Linked DNA regions of Homo sapiens: region 1 is linked to region 2. The links are contacts of gene promoters, found by promoter capture Hi-C in blood cells and fetal thymus (Javierre and others, 2016). All regions are on one chromosome and are shown on one strand. The core of a region is centred on a gene start or on the middle of the fragment in contact, and the rest is flanking DNA. Distances in the headings are between cores, read along the strand shown.

Region 1 (4,477 bases), core at 1,633-4,132, 130 kb before region 2:
TGCATAGTTTAAACATCTTGTGGAAGTGATGCTTTCTTTCTTTTTTTCTGAGACAAAGTCTTACTCTGTCGCCCAGGTTGGAGTACAGTGGCGCAATCTCAGCTCACTGCAACCTCTACCTTCCGGGTTCAAGCGATTCTCGTGCCTCAACCTCCCGAGTAGCTGGGATTACAGGCGCCTGCTACCACACCCGGCTAATTTTTGTATTTTTAGTAGAGACAGGATTTCTCCATATTGACCAGGCTTGTTTCAAACTTCTGGCCTCAAGTGATCTGTCTGCCTCGGCCTCCCAAAGTGCCGAGATTACAGGTGCAGGCCACCGCACCCAGCCTGTTGCATTTTCATCTTTATGTCTCTTAGCATGGCACTTACTGCCTCTCACATACAGCTACTCCAGAAATAAACATTAAGGACTAAATGAAGATACCTTTCGGTTAGTTTGGTGTCATTATCATCAGTGTTCACTTTAACGAGGTGTTGTACATCTACGTCTGAAAGAATATGCCAAAACTGTGGGCACTTACCTTACACATAAACATTTCTAATGCTATGGTGACAGTTGTCATCAGTGGTATGAGACAGTATGCCTTGTCAGTAACAAGACTCCATTTTATTTATTTTTGGACAGGAGAATCAGATGAGAGGGAACAATCAAAATTGGAAGTTAAAGTTTGGGATCCAAATAGCCCACTTACGGATCGACAGATTGACCAGTTTTTAGTTGTAGCACGGTGAGTATGAGTATGGCATTATTGAGTCAATAAATTTCTTTATATAAAAGAATTTATAGGTATATGTATTTTTATTTCTTTGTATTCTGCTTTTCTCCCACTGATTGTATTATTTTTTTAGTTAGGTAAGAAAGCTTAATACGTTATGCTGCTTCCTAATTTTATTAATTTCTGTTTTAAATGAAAATAGTTGTATTAATTTTTACTGATTAAGAAAACAGAAAAGTATAAAGAAGAAATTCTTTATACCTGAAGAAAATACCTGAAGTCCCACATCCTTAATAAAAAGAGTCATCCTTTTTACTTGACATAGCTTTACTCTAGACATGGATTATTCAGGTATCAATAAGAATGTGCACCTGGAATTCGCTCACCGCATCCATGTGTGGGTAAGGCCTGTTGCTAAGCATAGCACTTTGCCTTGAGAGCTTTCAACCTGGCTACCTGGCTGGCTTCCTTCCTTCCTCCCCTTTTCTTAAGAGAATGAATGGGACAGAATTTTATTTTTATTTAAAAAATGATAACAGTAAAAGTACATCAGCAAGCAATTGATGAATGAACTGAGGTATACTCATATAGTGAAATATTATTTTATGGCAATTGAATGAATTAAAGCTATATGTAGCAAAGAGATAAACATCACAAATAGTGTTGAGGGTATATACCATGTGATCATTTATGTGTATACAGAGTAATTATAAAATGTTTGCTGTGTACAAAACTATTTTATTAGTGGATTTTTAAATACATTAAATGGGTATATATAGTATATATGATCTAGGAGTATATATAGGGAACTCTAACAAATTTATAATATTTATTTTTTAAAAGAATGAACCAAACATGGCAAAATATTACTATGAGTTAGATCTGGACAGTGGATGCAAGGGTCTTCATTATGTTATTGTCTGATTTTGTGTTGAACTTATTTCACAATGCAGAGGAAAAAATAGTCTTGGCTCATCCTTAGATATCACTGTTCATAGAGCCAGTCACCATGGACGATCCCACTTTTTATTGGTGGCCAGGCATTTGGAGTCCAGAGCCCATCACCTAACTACTAAGTGACTGGATGGAGACACTTGATGAGCATTGTAAAGGGGCCAATCTTGTGGCCCCTTGTTGAGTACAGAATATTGGTCTAGAGTCTCCAGACAGGCTGTCTAGATTGGGGATTGGTTAGGAGACATTGCCATTTTCAAATTAGATTTGTATTCTGTATTTTCATTTTTCTGATTGCCAAGGGCTGTATGTTTCCCCTCAAAGCCAGCATGAAGGACACCAAGGAGTTGGTTCCTAGTATGTTTTTGTTTTCAATATTTGTTTTAAAAAATAATCTTGTAGGCTGGGAATGGTGGCTTATGCATGTAACCCCAGCACTTTGGGAGGCCAAGGCAGGAGGATTGTTTGAGTCCAGGAGTTCAAGACAAACCTGGGCAATATAGTAAGACCTCATCTCTTAAAAAAAAAAAAAAAAAAAAGGGCCCGGCACAGTGGCTCACGCCGCCTGTAATCCCAGTGCTTTGGGAGGCCAAGGCAGGCAGATCACCTTAGGTCAGGAGGTCAAGACTAGCCTGGCCAACATGGTGAAACCCCGTCTCTACAAAAATACAAAAAAAATTAGCTGGGCATGATGGTGGGTGCCTGTAATCCCAGCTACTTGGGAGACTGAGGCGGGAAAATTGCTTGAACTTGCGAGACGGAGGTTGCAGTAAGCCGAGATCGCACCATTGCACTCCAGCCTGGGCGACAGAGGAAGACTCTGTCTCAAAAAAAAAAAAAAAAAAAAAAAAAAAAAGATCTTCTAAATGCAAATTAAGACCACAGTCAAATACCACTGCCAATCCACCAGAATGGTTAAAATTTTAAAGACTGACAGTGCTAAGCATTGATCAAGATTTAGAACCAATACTCTCATATCCTGCTGGTGAGTGTGTAAATTGGTACAGCTCCTTTGGAATACTGTTTGCTGTCATCTAACACAAGTATCTCTTAAGTTTCACTCCTAAATATCTATGCAGCAGAAATGCATATACCTTTGCACCAAAAGATACGTATACAAATGGATTTATGGCACTATTCATAGTAACCCCAAACTGGAAACACATGGAATGTCTGTCAGCAGTAGAGTGGAGGTGGGGATGAGACGTCGTACAACGGAATGTCGCGTAACAGGGAAAATGAGTGAATACAGCTGTAGCTAACAACATGGATGAACCCACAAACGTAATTTTAATCAAAAGAAGCTGGACGTAATATCCAGCTGTGTGATTCTATTTGAGCAAAACTAATCTGTGGTGCTATAATCCAGGGTGGTGGTTCCCTGTGGAAAGGAGCTTGAGGAGCCTCTGGGTTGTGGTCATGTTCTTTCTTGAACTGTATGTTGGTGGCATGCATGTGTTCACTTTACAGTAACTATCTGTTTACTGTGTACTTTTCAACATGTTTGTTGTATTTTAATTAAAATATTTATAAAATTTCTTCCTTAGGGGTCAACCACAATGGCTCATGCCTATAATCCCAAAACTTTGGGAGGCCGAGGCGGGAGGATCACTTGAGCCCAGGAGTTTCAGACCAGCCTGGGCAACATAGGGAGGCCTTGTCTACAGAAAATTTTTTTTAATTAGCCAAAAAAAAAAAAAAAAAATAGCTGGGCGTGGTGGTGCATGCCTATAGTTACAGCTACTTGGGAAGCTGAGGTGGGAAGATTGTTTGAGCCCAGGAAGTTGAGGCTGCAGTGAGCTATGATCATACTATTGCGCTCCAGCCTGGGTGACAGAGTGAGACCCTGTCTCAAAAAATAAAAATAATAAAAATAAAAAATCTCTTCCATAGCAAACATGTTTAAAATACAGGCAGGAAAAGCAGTGAGTCTTCATTTTATGCTGTATGTGTTAAGGTTAGGGTTTCTTACATATTGGAAGGACTTCCAAATCATTAAAATCAGCATTATGGTAATTTCTTTTTAAATGAGATTTTAGTAGAAATCTGTTTCATGTTGAATCCTCACAGGAAGGGGTTGCTACAGTTAATGATATATTGGGGGAAAAATGTAACTGAGTTTTACAATTTGGGCTTAAAAAGTAGTCAAAACTTGCTTTGCTGTAATAGTCAAACTCTGCAGCTGACTTTTTATTTTTTGAGCCAATTTGAATAAATGTTTTACTCCATGACATGTTATAACAGAGCTTCCCTTTCCTTCTTTTTTACCCCCTGCACAGGCTATTTTTTTTCTTGATTTCATGATAACGACCTGTTTATAGTAAATTGGCTTGTCAATTATTATATCTTATAGAGTGAAAATTCTTTTTATTTGATGTTTGATTCTCATTCAGAAACTTGTTTTTGCCTCTTCTTTTACAGTTTTTTATTTACTATCCAAATGTGTTTTTTAAAACGTTAAAAAAACAAACCAAAACAGATACTTAATTCTTCCTTATTGTGTTTGTGGTTTATTCAGTGCTGTTGGGACATTCGCCAGAGCCCTGGATTGCAGCAGTTCTGTGAGGCAGCCTAGTTTGCATATGAGTGCTGCTGCAGCTTCCCGAGACATCACCTTGGTAAGACATGGTTTGAAATTTTGTGGGTATTTATCCTTCTGTTACTTGTTTAATTTTAAAGCCATTGTGGCAATACTGTAGACCGGGAGCTTTTGGGCTCTTAGCCTTCCTGACTGCTAGGTTGATTTGGCTTGGTTACTTGGTTGACTGGGTTATGATAACACTCGTCTGTGAGTTGAGAGTTTT
Region 2 (4,464 bases), core at 978-3,477:
AGCCGCAAGGAACTTGACTGGGGAAGAGTGTGCACAGGAGAGCTGGGTGCAGAGGCTCTGAGATTAGAAGCACTGGGGGTGAGCTTGGGGAACGATTGAGAAGGCTGGTCCAGGAGGGTGGACCAGCCATGGAGTCTGGTCTTGGCCTAAGGGGTGCTGGGGAACCTGGAAAGTTTGTTTTTTTTTTTTTTTTTTCAGATAGAGTCTTGCTTGCCACCCAGGCTGGAATGCAGTGGCACAACTTCGGCTCAGTGCAGCCTCCACCTCCCGGGTTCAAGCAATTCTCCTGCCTCGGCCTCCTGAGTAGCTGGGACTACAGGCGCGTGCCACCACGCCCAGGTAATTTTTGTATTTTTAGCAGAGACGGGGTTTCACCATGTTGGCCAGTCTGGTCTTGAACTCCTGACCCCAAATGATCCACCCACCTCAGCCTCCCAAAGTGCTGGGATTACAGGCATGAGCCACTGCGCCCGGCTTGAAAGTTGTTTTTTAAAATCAACTTCACTGAGATGTAATTTAGGTACATACAGACAATTCTTAAACAACTCCACTCAAGAATTCTTTCAACCCATCAGTCAGAATGCATAAACCAGACCTGCCCCTCCTCTGCCCAGAACTCTTCAGCAGCTTCTCACCTTGCTTGCTTCAGCAGCTTCTCACCTTGCTGAATAGTAACCCCTCCTGTAAAATTTATATGTTGAAGTCCTAACGCCCAGTACTGCAGAATGTGACCTTATTTGGAATAGGGTCCTTGAGATGTAGTTAGGTTAGGATGAGGTCATCCTGGAGTAGGGTGAGCCCCTGATCCAATATGTCTGGTGTTCTTTTAAAAGAGGGAAATTTGGACACAGACACACACACAAGGAGACTGCCTTGTGAAGACGAAGGTGGAGGTGGGCGTGGTACAGCAGAAGCAAGAATACCAATGATGCCAGCAAACCACCAAATGCTAGGGAGAGGCCCGGGCAGATGGACGCGAGACCTCAGGGGGAGCGAAGGGAGGACTGAGAAGGAGCGACTGCAGATGGGGATGAAGTGTTGGAAGGAGGCAAAGATGATGCTACATCTTTAATTGGGGGTGGGCAACAACAGTGATAGAAGAGATCTTTGGGGAGATATTGACTGTTGGCCATGTGGTATTGCATGGTAACCAAGAGTGTGCGTGGACTCTGGAGTCGAACTGCTCCGTGGGTTGAGTCTGGAGCCTATCGCACAGGCGCTCCGTGACACTAGAAAAGTTACTTATGAAAATCCCCCCTCACGGTGCTACTGTGAGAATGAGATGAGATGATGTAAAAACACTTGGCATAGTCCTGGGCCTGCTGTTTGCCTTGAGGTGCCACCCTACTGACCATGTCCTGTGGACACAGCAAAAATGGGGAATGTAAACCTTGATCTAGCTGGCATGTGGGGCCCCGCCATGGAACTGGGGGGATGAGGGAGGTGACCATACCACAGGGGAGGGCCTGAGAGGTCTGCCTGAGAAAGATGGCAGCTGGATGGCCAACCCTGTTGGGTGCTGCAGGCAGAGGCTACTGGCAGAGGTGGCCTAGGGAGGGTCTGGTGTGGTGTGTGTGTGTGTGTGTTCGTGCACACCTGCATAGAGGGGCCCTGAAAAAAGCAAGACATCAAGATCTTCCCAAAGGAGCGGATTCTCTGCCTCCCCCTTTGCCTGTGGCTTCTGGGACAGGGTTGGGGTGTATGATTTGGCTGCCCCCAGGCCTACATTCTAGTGCATTTCTGCCTTGAAAACCACCCTCCCCACACTTTTGAGTTTTCCCAAAATGCACAGTGTCACTTGGGGTTGGAGAATTGTTTCTCAGCCCTGGAAGGAGAGGTGCACCCTGTCATGTCATCTCCTACAGCCTGAGAACCAGCTCAGCCTTCTTCAGAAGTCAAGGCCACAGTCACAAGAAAGAGGAACAGACCGATGTGGTGGAACCGGAACAGCCTGTCTCCATCTTCCCCCAAGAACCAAGAGATTAAAGCGGTCCTTCTGCAAGCTTCTGGGTCCAGGAACTCGGAGCTGGAAGGTGAGGGCGCAGATGGAGGAGGGGGAGGAGGCGAGGGCAGGGGGCGGCCATGGGGGTGCTGGACTCACATGAGCTTGTTGCAGACCGGGGGCTGGAAGGAGCCCCGGTTCTCCTTCACCCAGGCCCTCACTCCCAGGCGGCGCTCCATGACTGTCCCGGGCGCCTCCTCGCAGCGCTGTCCTCCCGCCGTCGGAGGCCCGCAGCTCCGCCCAGCCGCCTTTTTAACCAGAATCCCAAGCTCACGAGGCGGAGCAAACCCCCGCGACCCCGTGGTGGGGGCTTGGGGCCCGCGGACTTTGCCCCCTGGTGGACTTTGGTCTGAGCCCGCCGCCCTCCGCGCCACTCCAGGCCCTGGCGAGCGCGGCGGCGGCAGCGCTGGGGAACGGCGTCCCGCGCCCTCTGCTTCTCCGCGGGGCAGGGGCTCGGTCCCCGCCACCGTCTCCGGGGCGCCCCACACACTGGCGCCTGCGGTGGGGCCTGCTCCCGGCGGAGGACAAAGAATCCAGACCCTTCCTGGACGCTTGTCCCCAGACGTTCCTTCCCTCTACGCCCCGAGGGGAATCCCAGGGAAGGTTCCCAGAAATACTACAGTGAGGAGATCGCGGGTTGGAAGTCCCAGCACCTGAGAACACGGTGCTGGCGCTGGGCTCAAGATTTGGCTTTCCCATCTGGAAAAGGGGAATGACTGCCCCGCCACTCAGGGCTGCGGCGCTCACCCAGCGGGAAGCCGCACGGCGGTCCCCGCAGGTCCCGATTCAAGGTGAGCCCCAGACCTGCTGCGTGCGGCCGGCAGACTCCGCCGCGGGCTCGGCGAGGGGAGCGGTGCAGGCGCCGAGCTGCGGAGCCCGGGCTCAGGGCAGGACCGCGAGCCCTCCCCACCTGAGGCCCAGCCGAGCGGCCGCTGTCCGCGCAGTGTCGCAGTGGACCCCGAGCCCCGTGCTGAACTCCTTAGGCGTCTTAGGAACATACTCAGTTCGCACGCAGCTATGGGAGGAATTTGGCAGATGTGGACACCGGCCTCAGTGTCCTAGCCCTCGGGAATCTCGGGGTGTTAATGATGACAGCCCCGTGTGAGAGACTCTAACAGTTATCCTGGGGGTGAGGGGCTGGGGCGCTGGGCCTGGGCGTGCATGTGTGAGGAAAGAGAAATCTGCGCGGGTGTGGAAGATGGAGAAGCCTGTCTTTCTGCAGGACTCAGAACTTTCTTAGGAAGTTTGGAGGGAGTGGGAGCTGACGGGTAGGGGAGGAGGAAAATGGCTCAGGCCCCTGACACCGGAATCCAGACTATAGAGTTTAAGAAACTAAACGCCTCTAAATCCTGCCCTCACAGCCCGCCTGGCCTGGGCTGGTTTTCTCAGCATTCCAGACATAAAGACTCCTCTAGTACAACTCAAAATCAAAACCCAGACGACAGGAAGCCGAATTCCCCACTGAGACCCTCCCGTTTCCTCTCTGACGCTCTTTTTTTTTTTTTCATTTTTCTCTCTCCTTTTTTTTAGTTATTTATCTAGCACAGTTTTAGCTGAGCACTTCTAGTGCAAAACTAGAATATCGTTTTGCACCCAAGTAACTCACACCACCTTCTTTATTTTTCTCATCTACAAGTAATCAGAGGAGACGTAAACAATGACACATGAAGCACTGAGGATCTGAGATGTGTTAAGTTTGCTTTGAGTGTTAGTTAAATGGAGGGATGGGTGAGTGGGTGGATGAAGGCATCAATGAATTCACACAAAAAGGAGAAAAAATTGATTTCAGCCCAACAGATGTTCCGTTACCATAGTGCAAAGGAAAGAATGATAGGTACTCTGTATTTTAACTGATGTGATCAAATAATGTGAATAATTAAGGCCACAAGTAGAATTTTGGGGGTCTGAAATATCCCGAGTAACCCTCTACACAAGCTAAATGACTGCTATGTTATCACTATCAAATATGCCCTCTGATTTGTGCTGTGTAGAGCAAATACCACGTCTGGTCTACTGAATTGGCAAGCCTCCTGGCTCAGGCACCACTGGACTCCAATGTTCAGAAAACGGACAGTTGCTATGTTGTGAGTATTCTGGCATTGTTGAGTTGGAACCATCTGGAATCCTTCTGGATACTGACTGTTGGGCCCCTTGTAGTTTCTGGAATTTACCCGCTTCTAGGAGCCACCTCTCTCCTCTGCACACAGGAGCTCATCTGCACTAAAGGATTAGAAGCAAATAGAATCTACCCCACGATCCAAGCTCAAAGGATCTGGCCTGCTTGCTGGTGTCTTCCCCTGGCCTCCGCTGGGTGGTGTTTGCCTGCCCAGGTCACTGAGACCAGCAGATCCTTCTAGGCTTTGCTGAACCTGGCTGGTAATAACTATCTGACCCTTCAATTCTTCCATACACTGAACTCGTTGCTCCAGTGAATCCCTTTCCCAGCCCACCTTGTTTTGTCT

The links. Contacts are between HindIII fragments. The CHiCAGO score rates a contact against its expected background, and 5 or more counts as called.
Region 1: a contact is called between a fragment that was not itself captured here and the fragment with the promoter of HAAO in region 2, in 1 of 17 cell types (M1 macrophages). The highest score is 5.2, in M1 macrophages.

What each region holds. Positions count from the first base shown.
Region 1 is chr2:42,655,572-42,660,048 of GRCh38, forward strand. It overlaps MTA3 (metastasis associated 1 family member 3), which reads left to right. Exons shown (of 17, transcript NM_001330442.2): 7 at 629-731; 8 at 4,192-4,291. Among named protein-coding and RNA genes, the nearest start is that of MTA3, 89 kb to the left of the region's middle. The HindIII fragment of the contact is 4,038 bases long and covers 864-4,477 here.
Region 2 is chr2:42,790,356-42,794,819 of GRCh38, forward strand. It overlaps HAAO (3-hydroxyanthranilate 3,4-dioxygenase), which reads right to left and starts at 2,228. Exons shown (of 10, transcript NM_012205.3): 1 at 2,102-2,228. The coding sequence starts at 2,181. RefSeq lists silencers at 2,075-2,514, 2,695-2,794, 2,875-2,964. The HindIII fragment of the contact is 4,290 bases long and covers 2,002-4,464 here.